Linked DNA regions of Homo sapiens: all the other regions are linked to region 1. The links are contacts of gene promoters, found by promoter capture Hi-C in human tissues and cell types (Jung and others, 2019). All regions are on one chromosome and are shown on one strand. The core of a region is centred on a gene start or on the middle of the fragment in contact, and the rest is flanking DNA. Distances in the headings are between cores, read along the strand shown.

Region 1 (5,165 bases), core at 1,225-3,724:
CAGAATCACTTTTTGATTCCTTCTTGGATATTGCCTTCTCCTGGTTTCCTTCTACCCCTCTGCCTGTTTCTACGTCTTCTTTCTGAATCCCCCAGGTCCCCTGGTTCCCCCTTCGCCCTCCACCACCTTCCCTTAGTCATCTAGACTCCTTCCAGGGCACCCCATTCTCCGATGGCTTAAACGAATTAAGTTAATACCAAAGTAGTAATGAGTTCCCAACCTGTTCCAACTCAGAAATGCCTCCCTCGGGCCATCTGCTGATGTGCTGTTTCCGCACCCCACCCCATCCAAAGTCAAAACGGACCAGGATCTCTGGTGCCTCCAAACTTTTGCAGAGACATCAGGAAAGCTGGCACCACCAAGGAAACCCTTCCCACCTCTGCTCACCTTTCACTGGCCAGTCGCATGTCACCTCTTCCTGAGGGGCCTCCTTAACCTCAGAGGCGTGAGCATGCTGGTCCCCTTGGTAAGCTTTCCTGGGCTCTCTGCAAACTTCAAACTTATAAGACACCCTGTGGGGAGATGAGTTCTTGTCCTTTTGTTTTTCATTTTAAAATTTAACATGTGACCGGGCACGGTGACTCACGCCTGTAATCTCAGCACTTTGGGAGGACAAGGCGGGTGGATCACCTGATGTCGGGAGTTCAAGACCAGCCTGACCAACACGGAGAAACCCCGTCTCTACTAAAAATACAAAATTTGCCAGGCGTGGTGGTGCATGCCTGTAGTCCCAGCTACTCAGGAGGCTGAGGCAGGAGAATCGCTTGAACCCGGGAGGTGGAGGTTGCAGTGGGCTGAGATTGCGCCACTGCACTCCAGCCTGGGCAACAAAAGCAAAACACCATCTCAAAAAAACAGAAAGAAACAACATGTATTCAGAAAAGGGCACGTACCATAAATGAACAGCTCAATAAATTCTCACAAACTGAGCCCAACCTTGTAACCAATACCCAGAGTAAGAAAGCTGAACCTAACCAGCCCCCGAAAGCCCAGCACGCTCCCACTCCAGGATCACCACTCTCCTGACCTCTGAACTGTTCTTGCCTTTTTTTTTTTTTTTTTTTTTTTTTGAGACGGAGTCTCACTCCGCCGCCCAGGCTGGAGTGCAGTGGTGAGATCTCGGCTCACTGCAACCTCCGTCTCCCGGGTTCAGGCGATTCTCCTGCCTCAGCCTCCCGAGTAGCTGGGACTACAGGTGTGCACCACCATGCCTGGCTAATTTATTTTTATTTTTATTTTTAGTAGAGACAGGGTTTCACCATGTTGGCCAGGCTGGTTTCGAACTCCTGACCTCAGGCAATCCGCCCACTTCATCCTCCCAAAGTGCTGGGATTACAGGTGTGAGCCACCGCCACCGGCCTGTTCTTGCCTTTTATGTAAATGGAATCATGCAGCGAGTGTTCCTTTGTGGCTGACTCTATTACTCTGACTTACGTCTGTGAGATTTACCCGTTATGTGAGTTGCGGATCATTCACTCCTGTTCCGTTTGTCGTGCTCCTAAGCCCGAATACTCCACGATATTCATCTGCCTTGATGACGCTAGGCTTCCCAATTGGAGGAATTATGAATGTGCGGCTACATGTCTTTCTGTCTTTTGGAGCACATGTTGTATGCGTTTCTGCTGAGTGTAAGGCTGGGCGGGGCGTCGGTGGCTCAAGGGGTCCATGGTGAACTCACAGGAACACCGCTTTGAGCTGCCCAGTGGCGTTCCTATGCGTCTCATCCAGTTCCTCCGCATCTTCACCTGCACCATTTTATTCTTCTTCTTTGGAAAATAAATCTACTTGTGGTTCCAAAGCCTAACTCATCCTCAGTAACCCCGGTAGCTATGAATTCCTATACAAGAGGCTCCCGCAGGCCCAGCGCCAAAGCTGCCTCCCCTGCAGCCTCGGTGACTTCCCGGGTCTCTCCCTCCGGCCCTGGTGTCCCGGGTGAGCCCAGCACACGTTGGGATTTTGGTTGTTTGTTGGCCTGGCCCGACTGTCCCTGTCTCTGAGGGCAGAGTCGGGTCCCATCCCGGGACACGCCTGGGGTTAGCCACCGACCTGCAGCCTCCCGGCCGAGGGTGCGGGGTTGGCGGTAAGGCCTGCCCCAGTGCCCCCCAGCAGCCGGGCCTCCGACTGCAGGCCCGGGTCCCCGCTCCTCCGCGCGGAGTCGGGCGGGGATAACCTTTGATCCCGAGCCCTCCCCTCGAGAGGGGGTGGGGGGAGGAGGGGATCGGGTTTCACGGAGTGTTGGGGGATAGGACTGGGGGCATCCGGCCCGAAGGCGCCCCCTCTGTGCCCCCTCCGGGGAAGTCTGGGATCCAGGCCCTCGCCCCCAGCCGTGGGCGCGCGCCCCTCGCAGCCGGGGTCCGGGGAGGGAGGGTCCCGGCAGGGGGCGCCGGGGAGGGAGGACCAGGAGACCCGCGGCCCCGCCTCCGCCGCGCCCTCCTCCCGGGCGGGATAATTGAACGGCGCGGCCCTGGCCCAGCGTTGGCTGCCGAGGCTCGGCCGGAGCGTGGAGCCCGCGCCGCTGCCCCAGGACCGCGCCCGCGCCTTTGTCCGCCGCCGCCCACCGCCCGTCGCCCGCCGCCCATGGAGCGCGCCGCGCCGTCGCGCCGGGTCCCGCTTCCGCTGCTGCTGCTCGGCGGCCTTGCGCTGCTGGCGGCCGGAGGTAGGGGCGTCCCGGGTCCGCCGCCCCAGCTTAGGGTCCCGACCCCCTCGGCCTCGCGCTCCCTGCGAGTTTCGGAACCACGGGGACTCGGAGTCCGTGCGTTGCCCTGCGCGGCGCCCCCGGACTGTCAGCGCCGAGGCCTCGGCGACGCCCCCCTCCCCCACGGCCAGCTCCGGTCCTCATCTCCTCCCCGGCCTGGGGACTTGTTTCAAAACCGGATTCCCCCACCCCTCAAACACACCGTCCTACCCCAGTCCTAGCAAATCCAGCCGGCTCCGGGGGCCGCATCCCGGGCCCTGGGGGTTCAGGGGCGCTAGCTGGGCTGGGGGACGCTGGCTGGGGGTTACCGAGCCCAGGGCGCCTTGCACTTGACGCTGGAAGCGCCCTCGGCTATCTTTCCTCACCGCTTCCCGCCTCCACCCCCAGGTAGGAGCTGTTGTACCCAGCTTGCGGATGTGAAACTTGAGCCTGGAGGGTGGGAAGCAGTCTTTTCCCCAGGAGACACTAGCGGTCCTGGGATAGGGGCTGGAGAGGAAGAAATGAGAAAGCCAGGGAGCAGCCTGGAGGTTTTTGGGGCGTAGCTGGGAGGATGGAGGGGATGCGGACCTGGCCACCTCCTCCCTGCCTCCCTCCCGGGACAGAGGGCCCAAGGCAGTGGTTCTGCCGGGCTCGGTGCTCAGCGGGGACTGGGGACTGGTCACTTCCACCAACGGCAAGGGGGATGGAGTTTTCCAAGAGCAGATCTGATCGATGGCCCAGACCTTAGGCCCCAACTCTGGGACTGACAGCTCCGGGACAGTGCCCACCCAGCCCGCGCTTTTCTCCCCTCTAACCCTCAAGGCCTGGTCCCTGGGGGGACTGCCACGAGGTCCTCTGATCAGAGCAGCTGCTGGGCGGCAGAGCTATGACCTGTGACCTCTCTGCTGACCCGTGGCTTCTCAGAGCCACTAGCCAGGCCCGGCACTCCTGGCGTCTTTGTTTCTCCAGTGGCCCAGGTCCAGGGGAGTGCCCTAGACCACCCTCAGAATCCGAGTCTTAATCCCTGGTTTAGTTGAGTTCCTTTTAACCTCTGGTGACCGCCTTTGTTAGTCAAAAGGTCGCTTGTCCCAACTAATGCTCACTGGGGGATTCCAGGAAGGGGGCTGAAGGGGGCTGGAGGGGGAGGGGAGGCTGGGAGCTGAGCTCTACAGAGCTTTCTTGACTGGCTGGCTGCAGCAGAGCCCTGTGGAGCTCTGATTGTTCAGGCGGTGCTGGGCACGGCCTGGGCACCTCGTGGGGTTGGAGATGGTGTGGGGAGGCGCAGAGCTCAGTGTTGGCACCAGGAGCCTTCGCAGCCCCTGGGGGCTCCCTGGAGGCTCTTTAGAAGAGATGGAGCTTGATGTAAGGGGAGCGCGGGAAGAGGGCATTCCAGCAAGCAGCAGGCCGGGTGGCTGCCAGCTGGAGGGAAAACCCCGAGGGGCCCTGGGTGATGGGTGGGTGGGACATCCGAGACTCCTGTTAGAAAAGGAAGGAGCCTCAGAGGCCCCGATTGTGTCGATGAGGAAGCTGAGGGCCTGAGAGAAGGCGTGGTAAAACTCTCCCTGGCCCCGGAGTCTCTGCGTTCCCTCTCACTGTTCTTTTCTGTCTGCGGTTTGCGAACAATTTCTCCCTATGTGTGTGTGACTGAATGAACACCCCAGGACTTGCGGGCCCAGTGTGGCTCACTGCTGAGCCACAGAGAAGTTTGTAATTGGAAGGGTTTAAAAAAGCCTCCTAATTGCACACTTCGATAAAAGCAGCTGGATGTCCTGTGGGCCTTTTGTTTCTTTTGGGGAGAAGTCTCTTTGAGTTTCAACAGGTTTAATTTGGTACAGTTTGGGAAGGGGCTTTTGAAGACTGCCTGGCCCCTATCTGCAGCTGTGAGGCCCCCGAAGCCCTGTATGTAAGGCCACAAGTGGCACCGCCCCTGCTCTCAGAGAGCTGTGGGGCCGCAGATGGTGAGCCTGTTAGCTGATCTGCAGAAACTCCTTTGGCGACGGCCGCTTAAATGGAGAAGGGCGCTGATCTTTCTTGCCAAACGGCCGAGAGGAGCCGCCTGTCTGTCCTGTGTCTGTCCGTCCCGTTGGGCTTTACTGAGAGCTGGGTGGGAGGGAGTGGAGAGGAGGAGGTGTTAGGAAAAGACGATTGTGTTTTCTCCAAGGCTTTCTTGGCCTCTGGCTGCAGCCGGGCAGCGTTTCCGACTGATTAAAAGAAAGTTGGGAGGGAGAACAAAGGCCAGGGAGGACTTGGCTTGAAAACGTGTGGTCTGTGCCGCCACTCCTGGAAGTTTCCCAGTCAGGAGGTGGGGGCCAGGGCACTGAATGCATGAAGATGAGACTCTGTGCCATGGGGGTCAGGGCTGGGGCCTCTCCTGCAGCACCCACAGCTCTGGCTCACGCCCCGCTCCTGGCCCTGCTGAGTGCCCCCCAACTCAGGGCTGCATTTGCCACCCCTGTTAGGTGTGTAGGGCAGGAGTAGGGGCACGCGGCTG
Region 2 (5,165 bases), core at 1,311-3,810, 49 kb after region 1:
GTCTATGGGAGTTGGGCTGCTCCCCCATCTCCAGGGGCCTCTCAGTGTGGTGCCCCAGGCCCCATCCCAGGAGTCCCAGACCTGGTGGTTCCAGTCCACCCTGAACAGCCACCAACCCCAACACACAGGCAAGACGTATGATCCCTCGAAGGCTGTTTTTCTCATTGTTGTGTGGAGCTAGCAGCTCCTGCCCTTTTCTCCTAAGAGGTTGAGTCACACCTAGGGTAAGGGTGCTGAGCCTCGGGAGCCACAGAGAGGCTCTGGTTAGTTAGTGTATGGACTCTGATGCCAGCCTGCCCGGGTTCAAAGCTCAGCTCTGACATTTATAAAATGTGTGACCTCAGGCAGGTCTCTTAAGCTCTGTGAGCTCCTCATAAAATGAGGATCATAACAGTATCTGCCTCATTGAGTTCTTAGGAGGATTCAGTGACTTATCCTTGCGAGGTACTCCCAGGACCCATCATGTAGTGTTTACTTTTACCATCGTCACGCTCCCTCCAGGGATTGCGAATGATAAGTTAACACTCTATAAATGTAAATACCCTATAAATGTAAGAACTGGCACAGGACGCTGCTCTGAAGATCAGCCAGTGGAGGGCAGGGATGGCCTGATCGCCACCCCTAACCCTAGTTGATGGGAGGCCTGGGCTCCTCCGTCTCCAGATGGGTATGGCTCCTGCAGCCTCTGCCTTCACTGTGCTGCTGTGGGGTCTCTTGCAGACATTGATGAGTGTGTGACTGGCATCCACAACTGCTCCATCAACGAGACCTGCTTCAACATCCAGGGCGGCTTCCGCTGCCTGGCCTTCGAGTGCCCTGAGAACTACCGCCGCTCCGCAGCCACGTAAGTCCCTTGGACCATGCCATCGTCGTCTGTCTGTGTTGGCCTTCCTGGTGACCCAGTTCCCGGGTGGGTGGGTTATCAGGCTGTGACCTCGGTGTCCTCCCATGAGGGACTCAGGGCACTCAAAGATCACCTGATCCCTGGCCCTCAAGCCCCTAAATGCTAGTGACACTGGTCTCGGAAAGTCAAGGGGGTAACTGCAAATGAGTCTGGGGTCTATAGTCATGTTTTCAGGCCAAGGCTGTGCACAGAACCAGGAGAAACCACAGCCCTCTTTTTTCCTAGGGTGGAAGCCTTGGGCAAGCTCTCTGGGCCTCAGTTTCCTCATCTGTAACATGCAGATGTCAGAACGTGCTCTGACTGAGATGCATAGGTAGCAATGTCTCCATGTCAGCCCAAAGCCAGGGAGCCGATGTGACCTGTTGGACGTTGTTGTTAGGTGCCCACCTGAAAGCCAGAATTCGTCCAGCCTGGTGACCGTGTGGGAACGGCATCAAAGATTCCAGATCCTAAACGTGGGGCTGCGTGCCCCTATGTCTTTGTAAGCTCACTCACTCCTAGGCCATCACGGCGCCCACTTGAGACCACGGTTCCCACTTCCTATCCCCCTTGCCCCTAATTGTATTCAGAAAGTCTCATTTAGTGCCACAGTCAGTTGCTTCAGGAAAAGCTCCATGCTGGGACCGATCTCAGGACTGTGGACTTGTGACCTCTCCCAGCACTCTGAGTGCACGATGCAGGCAGCCAGCTGTTTCCGAGGCCTTGGCCCCTTGACCTTCAGCCTGCCTTGGGCTCTTGGCCAGCTGCCCCCGCGACCTGAGGGTCAGTGGTAGTGTCCACCTCTTGACCCTAGGGGCAGCTGCCCTGGCTTGTGGCATAGCAAGGCTTCTGGGTACCCGAGCAGCCCCGTTGTCCCTGGCAGCCCTCCATATTCTTCCTGGCTTTGCGATTCTCATTGGCTGGCCCAGCCATTTCCCTGTTTCCCAGCACGGATTTCTGTCTGCTTGAAAACCCAACATCTTGTTTCCTTCCTGAGCTTGGGTTAGGAAAAAGCTGCCCCAAAACTGGGTTTGCAAGTCTGTAGCATCCCGAAGAGCTCATGGTTATGCAACAGCCTGCCCCAGGCAGTGACACTGCTTCTCTGAGCCATTAAGAAAGTTCGATGGCCTTGGCTGCAGGCTGTGCAGCCGTCTGTCATTGTAAGTTCACTCTCTCCCCAGCCTTTGTCAGCGCCTGGGCTTGAGGATTCCAGGAGGCTGGCTGTGGTTGTGACCTCGATTTCTAACTTGCGCACAGTCGTGAAACCACCTTTCGAAGAGGGGGAGGCTGCCCTGCACAGGGGCCCTGGCGCCTCCTAAGCCTGAGGGTGGGCGGGTTGGCCATGTGTGCTGAGGTCATGGCTGAAATCAGGGGAACCCAGCTCCACCCCTCATGTTGGCTGTGGAAGCCTCTGCCACCCCTCAGTGCTGGAGAAAGTCGTTTCTTCCTGGACCTACTGCGTGCAGGCACCTGGGTAGACAGCCCACAGAGGGCTTTGTCCCCGCACAGGCTCCGCCTTCGGCGTGTGTGCTAGGAGGGAGGAGGGGACCCCACCTGGCTGGGCGTGAGGGTGGGCAGGGGGCTGTCTGGAGTGGGCCATGCCTGCATGGAGGTGGAAGGGGGAGCGAATTAGGCAGAAGCGGCGGGAGTATGGACACATGTGCGGTGAAATGGGGAGTTCAGCCTGAAACCTGGGCCCTGTGTGCTGTGCAGTAAGGGATTGAGCTGCTGGGCGCCTGGCTTGTTCCAGCCCTTGGACTCCCGGGACTGATAGTGAGGAGGGGCCACCCCCTCTCAGCACTGCTAACCCCTCAGACTGGAGTTTTGTATTTTACAGCCCCTTTTCCTGCTCATCAAAAATCGAAGCTGCTTAACACGTTTTTTCATCTAAGCTTCAGAAAGCAATTTTTAAAATCTAAAAGAGCCATATTTAGGAGGGACCCATGGCCGGCGCTTCTGTGGTTAACAACTCAGCAAGAGCGCCTCCTTCGGGAGCCTTGACAGACAGGACTGCAGAGTCCGCTGCTGTGCCTTTCTCTCTCTCTCCACTCAGACGGCTTCCATCTGGGGAACATCCCGGCGGCCGAGGGCTGGTAACTGGAGCATGACCCAGGAAGCTGGGCCGCAAACCACAGGGCTCGGCCTTGTGGACAGGACCAGGCTGTTACAGTCCTGCCCACACAATTCCCTTCTGCCCGCAGGAGGAAGTGTGCAAAGCTGTCCCACAGCCTTCATGGGGCCGGACACATCCTCTTTATCCCCTCAGTGGGGCCGGCGCCTGATGACCTGTGGTCTAGAAAGCTGGAGCAAAGCCGGGTGGCCTTGGTTGCCGCTTCCCGGGGATGGGACACGAGTGAACAGCTGTGGGCCTGAGGGTGTAACACGGTGGACGGTGGCAGAGATAGAGCCGTCGATGGCCCCCCTGCCTTGGCCAGTTCCTGGGGCTTGTCTCCCGGACGACGAGCGTGTGAAAGTCAGGAAAATGCCGGCAGGGATATCCACAAGCACCTGGGGTGGCCAGAACTGCCGTGCCTCCCAGGAGAAGGAGGGGGCCTAGAGGGCCTTTTTTCTCTGGTGTGTGGTGGCTTAGGATCATTTCCATAGAGCTTGAGGTGTTAGGGTCAAATGTGTTGAACTGGCAAGTTGGAGCACATTGTCCTCTAACGCATGACATGGCCCAGGATGGGTGGCCTGCTGAGGGGACATGTCTGGAAACCAGGGCCTGCGTGGCAGGGGGGGACGGGGCGGGCTCGCCTATGCCCTGCTCTGTAATACATTCAGTGATGACAACCCGTCCCTGACCTAGACACACTGGCTAAAAGGGATTTTTGGGCCGTTCCCAGTCTGACAGGCAGTTTGCCAGACAGTTATGTTTCTGGTGTTTTAAAAAGTTTGAGTAGAGCGAAGTACGATCATTGAAGCCAGGACTTACCAGGAAAATCAAGGACATGTTTATTTTTGTGCATTAGTCATTTGCAAAGCACATAGCGGGTGCCCCAGGCCCTGCTCTTTGTCCAGAAGGAGCCAGCCCAGAAACTCCTAGTGTAGAGAAGGTTTTGGGGTGCTCTGAGGAATGACTGTGTGGGGTCGGAGGGGGAGCCTCCAGGGGAGGAGTGACCAGTCGCTGTGTGTGATGACGGCGGGAGCTGCACCAGAACACCACGCACACCTCCCATTGCTTTCCTCCGCTTCCCTCTGGCAAAACAAATTCCATCCCTGGTTAGTACCCGCCATGCTGAGAGAAGCGGGAAGCCGAAATCCCACCAGGGCGACTCTAGCGCCACCTGCTGACCAGCCCCATCCAGGCTGGTCCTGAAGTTGCTGGTGTGTGTGCGTGTGCGCGTGCTTGTGTGTGTGCATACATTGTGTGTGTAAAAGCTTTGAAGTAAGACAGGCCGACTTTGAAAGCCAAGCTTGCCCCTTACGACACACCACGGAGCTATCAGCAAGTTCTGCATCCTCAATGGGCGTCTGTCTTCCAGCCAGTAGAGCGGGAGGACGATGGGAGACAGTGGAGGGAGCGAGTGGAAGGAAAGTCTGCTGCTTGCAGCCTGCTCCCTGCACCCGGAAGCGCAGTTCACCTGCACCCGGAAGCACAGCTCATGGGTCCCATGCTCCTCCCCCAGTTCACGGACGCTTTGGTCATAGCTCCTCAGAGGCCCCCCTGGGGGAGAGCTCTCAGATCGCCTGGAGCACTCCCGTTTGGCCTGGACCTGGGCATCTCTGGGGCAGGCCACCGCCAGCAGCACCCGTGCCCACCTTCTTTCCTGCCTCTGTTTTGGGCCCCTCCCAGGCAGGACTCCCCCGTTCAGTGCCCCTGACTCCCAGGCCAGTCCTTTCTAAGAGCTTGGAATGATCACTAGCCAAGTAAATGCAAGGCCTCCTGTCAGTCCTGACAAACCTGGAAAGAGGAGGTAAAAGGAGACCCCAGTCTCGATAAATGCCTCAAGCAAGTCCAAGTAACCCAGCACGAGACATGGAAACTTAAAAAGCCAAAAGGGAGATGTGATAGAAGGCCAGGACGAGAGGATGCTCCTGACCTCAGAATCCAGACACAGCCCAGATGGCAGGGCTTCCTGGAGCACCTGGGCCAGGTCCTCTGGGGCTCCGCACCTGGGCCCTGCTTCCTCAGGCAGCCACCTTCAGAGTATGATGGGCCAGGAGTTCAGTACACAGGAGACGACCCCTGTCCCATCTTGTGACAAGAAATTAGAACTTGTTACTATCCTGTAGCGGAAGATAATACCGATCTCCATCCTGTCACAGGAGGTTAGAATCTGTA
Region 3 (5,165 bases), core at 1,134-3,633, 36 kb before region 1:
GAGCAATTCCCATCTTGCATGGATGGCTGCAGGCAAAGAGAGAATGAGGAAGACGAAAAAGTGGAAACCCCTGATAAAACCATCAGATCTCGTGAGATTTATTCACTACCATGAGAACAGCATGGGGGAAACTGCCCCCATGATTCAATTATCTCTCACCAGGTCCCTCCCACAACACGTGGGAATTATGGGAGTACAATTCCAGATGAGATTTGGGTGGGGAAACAGAGCCAAACCATATCAGATGGAAAAAGTTATATCATGCAAATGTTAATCAAAGGAGAGCAGGTGGCTATATTAATACCAGATAAAGTGGACTTCAGAGCAAAGAAAATTACCAGAGACAGAGAGGACATTATATAATGATAAAAGAGCCAGTCCACAAGAAGACATAGCAATCCTAAATGTGTAAACATCAAAGAAGAGAGCTGCAAAATACGAGAATCAAAAGCTGGGGCCAGGCGCAGTGGCTCACACCTGTAATCCCAGCACTTTGGGAGGCCAAGCTGGGCGGATCACCTGAGGTCAGGAGTTCGAGACCAGCCTGGCCTACATGGTGAAACCCCCGTTTCTACTAAAAATACAAAAAATTAGCCAGGCGTGGCGGCACACGCCTGTAATCCCAGCCACTCGGGAGGCTGAGGCAGGAGAATCGCTTGAACCCGGGAGGCAGAGGTTGCAGTGAACCGAGATCGTGCCATTGCACTCCAGCCTGGCAACAGAGCAAGACTCCGTCTCAAAAAAAAAAAAAAAAAAAAATTTGCCAAGCATGGTGGCGAGTGCCTGTAATCTCAGCTACTCAGAAGACTGAGGCAGGAGAATCACTTGCACCCAGGAGGCAGAGGTTGCAGTGAGCCGAGATCATGCTACTCCACTCCAGCCTGGGTGACAGAGTGAGATTCTCCCTCAAAAAAAAAAAAAAAAAAAAAAAAAAAAAAAAAAAAAAAAAAAAACTGGAAGGACAAATAGATAAATCAAGAATTATACTTGGAGACTTTAATACCCCTCTCTCAATAAATTATAGACTAATCAGGCAGAATATCAACAAAGATATAGAATAAGAAAACTCAACAGAAACATCAACCAACAGTATCTCAACAATATTTATAGAACACTCCACCCAACAAGAGCAGAACATATGTTCTTTTCATATTTTCCTCATTGTCTTGGGGATTAACAATTGGCTCCTCGTTATTTACGCAAATGTCTGCAGCCTGCTTGAATTTCTCCTCAGAAAATGGGATTTTCTTTTCTATTGCATTGTCAGGCTGCACGTTTTCTAAACTTTTATGCTCTGTTTCACTTTTAAAATCAAATGCTTTTAACAGCATCCAAGTTACATCTTAAATGCTTTGCTGCTTAGAAATTTCTGCTAGATACCCTAAGTCATCTCCCTCAAGTACAAAGTTCCACAAATCTCTAGGGCAGGGGCAAAATGCTGCCAGTCTCTTTGCTAAAACATAACAAGAGTCACCTTTGCTCCAGTTCCCAACAAGTTCCTCATCTCTATCTGAGACCACCTCAGCCTGGACTTTATTGTCCATATCGCTGTCAGCATTTGGGGCAAAGCTTTTCAACAAGTCCCTAGAAAGTTCCAAACTTTCCCACATTTTCCTGTCTTCTTCTGATCCCTCCAAACTGTTCCAATCTCTGCCTGTTCCCCAGTTCCAAAGCTGCTTTCACATTTCAGGTATCTTTTCAGCAATTGGTGCTGGGGAACATACACCAAGATAGACCATATCTTGGACCATAAAACAAACTTTAACAAATTTTCAAGAATTGAGAGATCATGAGGGTATGCTCTCTAATCACATAGAATCCAACAAGAAATTAATAGCAAAAAGATAACAGGAAAACCTCCACATACTTAGAAACTCAACAACACACTTCTAGACAATCTATGGGTCAAACAGGAAGTCTCAAGGGAAGTAAGAAAAACACATTAAATTGAATACAAATGAAAATACAACATATTAAAATTTGTGAGACACAGCTAAAGCAATATCATGAGGGAAATTTATAGCAATAAATGCACATATTAGAAAAAAAAGCCTCCAGCCTGGGCAACATAGTGAGACCCCATCTCTATTTTAAATTGTATCTGTATAATTTAAAAAGAAAAAGAGGCCAGGCATGGTGGCTTACGCCTGTAATCCCAGCACTCTGGGAGGCTGAGGTGGGCGGATCACCTGAGGTCAAGAGTTCAAGACCAGCCTGGACAACATGGTGAAACCCTGTCTCTACTAAAAATACAGAACTGACAACTCAGCTGTTTCCTGCATTCCTTGAGCATGTTCACTGTCAGTCTATGTGGACCGCCTTGACCAGGTTCAAGAGTTCCTTTTCATTCCAGTTTATTGAGACTTTTTCTTTTTTGAGTCGGAGTTTTGCTCTTGTTGCCCAGGCTGGTGTGCAATAGTGCAATCTCAGCTCACTGCAACCTCCACCTCCTGGATTCAAGCGATTCTCCAGCCTCAGCCTCCCGAGTAGCTGGGATGACAGCCACCCGCCATTAACCCTGGCTAATTTTTGGGTTTTGTTTTGTTTTGTTTTGTTTTTTGATACTAAGTCTCAATCTTGTCACCCAGGCTGAAGGGCAATGGTACGATCTTGGCTCACTGCAACATCTGCCTCCCGGATTCAAGCAATTCTCCTGCCTCAGCCTCCCGAGTAGCTGGGATTACAGGTGCCTGCCAGCATGCCTGGCTAATTTTTGTATTTTTAGTAGAGATGGGGTTTCACCATGTTAGCCAGGCTGGTCTTGAATTTCTGACCTCAGGCAATCCACTCGCCTTGGTCTCCCAAAGTGATGGGATTACAGGAGTGAGCCAACATGCCAGCCTGTATTTTTAGTAGAAATGGGGTCTCACTGCATTTTCCAGGCTGGTCTTGAACTCCTGACCTCAGGTGATCCACTGGCCTCGGCCTCCCAAAGTGCTGGGATTACAGGCGTGAGCCACCGCACCTGGCCTATGGAGACCTTTTAAGCATCAATGATTGTTGAATTTTGTCAAGTGTTTTTTCTGCTGTATTAGTTCATTTTCCCACTGCCATAAAGAACTTACCTGAGAGTGGGTAAATTGTAAAGGAAAGAGGTTTAATTGACTCACAGTTCAGCCTGGCTGGGGAGGCCTCCGGAAGCTTAACACTATGGAGGAAGGTGACAGGGAAGCAAGTACTTTCTTCACAAGCCATCAGGAGAGAGGAGGATGAAGGACGAGCTTCCAAACACTTAAAAAACCATCAGATCTCGTGAAAACTCCCTCATTATCACGAGAACAGCACGAGGGAAACCGGCCCCATGATCCATTCACCTTCCTCCCTCCACATGTGGGAATTACAGGTCCCTCCCTCAACATGTAGGGATTACGATTGGAGATGAGATTTGAGTGGGAGCATAGAGCCAAACCATATCATCTGCATATATTGAAATGATTACATGATTTATGGCAACGTGGTGACTTACACTGATTGATTTTCAAGTGTTAAACCAACCTTGAATTTCTGTGATCAGTCTGACTTGGTCATGATGGATTGTCCTTTTTGTATATTTCTGGATTTGATTTGATCATATCACATTAAGGATTTCTGTGAGTGAAAGGAAAATAAATCTTGGGACCCCCAAATCACTAAACTAAAGGAAAAAGTCAAGCTGGGAACTGCTTAGGACAAAGCTGCCTCCCATTCCATTCAAAGTCATCCCTCTGAGGCTCACCTGAGACAAATGCCTATCTGATTGCTTCCTCTTCCCTATCGTTTATGTAAAAATGCAGATTCACTGAACGGGACTAAATTGTGTATTCAGTGGAAGACTGGTCAAGGACTCAAAAGAATGCAACCTTTTGTCTCTTGTCTACCTTTAACCTGGAAGCCCCCACTTCGAGTTGTCCCACCTTACAGGACCGAACCAATGTACATCATACGCAGGAAGCTCAGAAAGCTTAAAATAATGGCAGAAGGTGAAGGGGAGCAGGCACGTCACATGGCAAAAGCAGAAAGGTGAGAGAGAAAGAGAGAGAGAAGAAGGGGAGGTGCCACACACTTTTAAATGACCAGATGTTGTATAAACTCGGGGTTAGAACTCACTTATCAGCAAGGGGATAGCCCAAGCCATTCATGAGAAATTGGCCGCCATGATCCAAACACCTCCCACCAGGCCCCACCTCCAACATTGGGGATTACAATTCAACATGAGATACGGGTGGGGACAAATATCCCAACTGTATCAGCAAGGATATTTCTATATTTTGGAAATCTTTCCATTCGAAATTGACAAAACGAACAAAGGCTTGTCACTGGAAGTGGTAAGCTTCAGTATTGCGGGGGGGGTTGGGGAGGGCAATTGCTCACGGGGAACTGGCATTTTCCAGATTCGTTCCAACTCACTTGATCAATGAGTCATTACTGTGTGGTGTTTTTAAAAAGCAGTTGAAATATTCTATTGCTGCAGCAGAGAAGGATCCAGGCAGCCCAGCTCCAGGTTTTGAGTCTCGGTGGTGACTTCAGCGTTTAGAAACAATTGTTTTTGGTTCAGTTCTAAAGCATTATGAATTCTGTTTAACTATGAACAAATTTTTACTTGACCCTCTAAAGTAGATCTCCTATCTTTATGATCTGTTTCATTTTCCATTAAAGTTTTAAAAACATATTTCAAATATCCCCTGGCATCAAAATGAAGTTATAAGACCTCAGAATCACCAACAAACGCTCTCTTTCTAGAATGCGAATGTGTGGGGAAGTTTTATTAAAGTGATTTTCATGTGCAAAAAGAGATTAGGCACGAATAAAGCCTGCCATAAAAAGCACACACGTTCTCTGGGGAATGTCTCAGTTTTGATTTCAGGGTTCAGTCTCGGTGAGATAATGATAGTCTTTAACATATGCATATTTCTTTTCTTTTTTAGTTTGGGCTTGTTTTTTGTTTGTTTGGCCTATGTCCCCATTGTGACTCTAACTTGCCAAAACTTAAACCTGAAAAACTGGCATTAGAAATTAGGCATAACATTACGAAATTACACATACCTCCAAATTTTTTCATGCCTTTTGGATAGTCTCAATTCCAATGTTGTTTTATGCCAATAATGAACATGTGCTGAGATGCAGTGCGGGTTGTTAAAAGTGCTTGCCAAACATACTTCTAAAGCTAACCCCGTTAGGGGAAGAAA

What was found. The method cuts DNA at HindIII sites, captures the fragments that hold promoters and counts their contacts. A contact is called where the count stands out against the background at its distance.
Region 2: a fragment that was not itself captured here is called in contact with the fragment with the promoter of FBLN1 in region 1 in 5 of the 25 tissues and cell types used here (IMR-90 fibroblasts, aorta, bladder and 2 more).
Region 3: a fragment that was not itself captured here is called in contact with the fragment with the promoter of FBLN1 in region 1 in 5 of the 25 tissues and cell types used here (bladder, dorsolateral prefrontal cortex, lymphoblastoid cells and 2 more).

What each region holds. Positions count from the first base shown.
Region 1 is chr22:45,500,409-45,505,573 of GRCh38, forward strand. FBLN1 (fibulin 1) reads left to right here and starts at 2,475. Exons shown (of 17, transcript NM_006486.3): 1 at 2,475-2,656. The coding sequence starts at 2,578. LOC105373066 (a long non-coding RNA gene) reads right to left here and starts at 579. Exons shown (of 3, transcript XR_938305.2): 1 at 388-579. RefSeq lists enhancers at 3,089-3,702, 3,703-4,316, 4,317-4,930, 4,931-5,165. The HindIII fragment of the contact is 10,534 bases long and covers 1-5,165 here.
Region 2 is chr22:45,549,772-45,554,936 of GRCh38, forward strand. It overlaps FBLN1 (fibulin 1), which reads left to right. Exons shown (of 17, transcript NM_006486.3): 14 at 721-844. Among named protein-coding and RNA genes, the nearest start is that of FBLN1, 49 kb to the left of the region's middle. RefSeq lists an enhancer at 4,076-4,185. The HindIII fragment of the contact is 3,435 bases long and covers 844-4,278 here.
Region 3 is chr22:45,464,668-45,469,832 of GRCh38, forward strand. No RefSeq gene overlaps it. Among named protein-coding and RNA genes, the nearest start is that of FBLN1, 36 kb to the right of the region's middle. The HindIII fragment of the contact is 3,482 bases long and covers 643-4,124 here.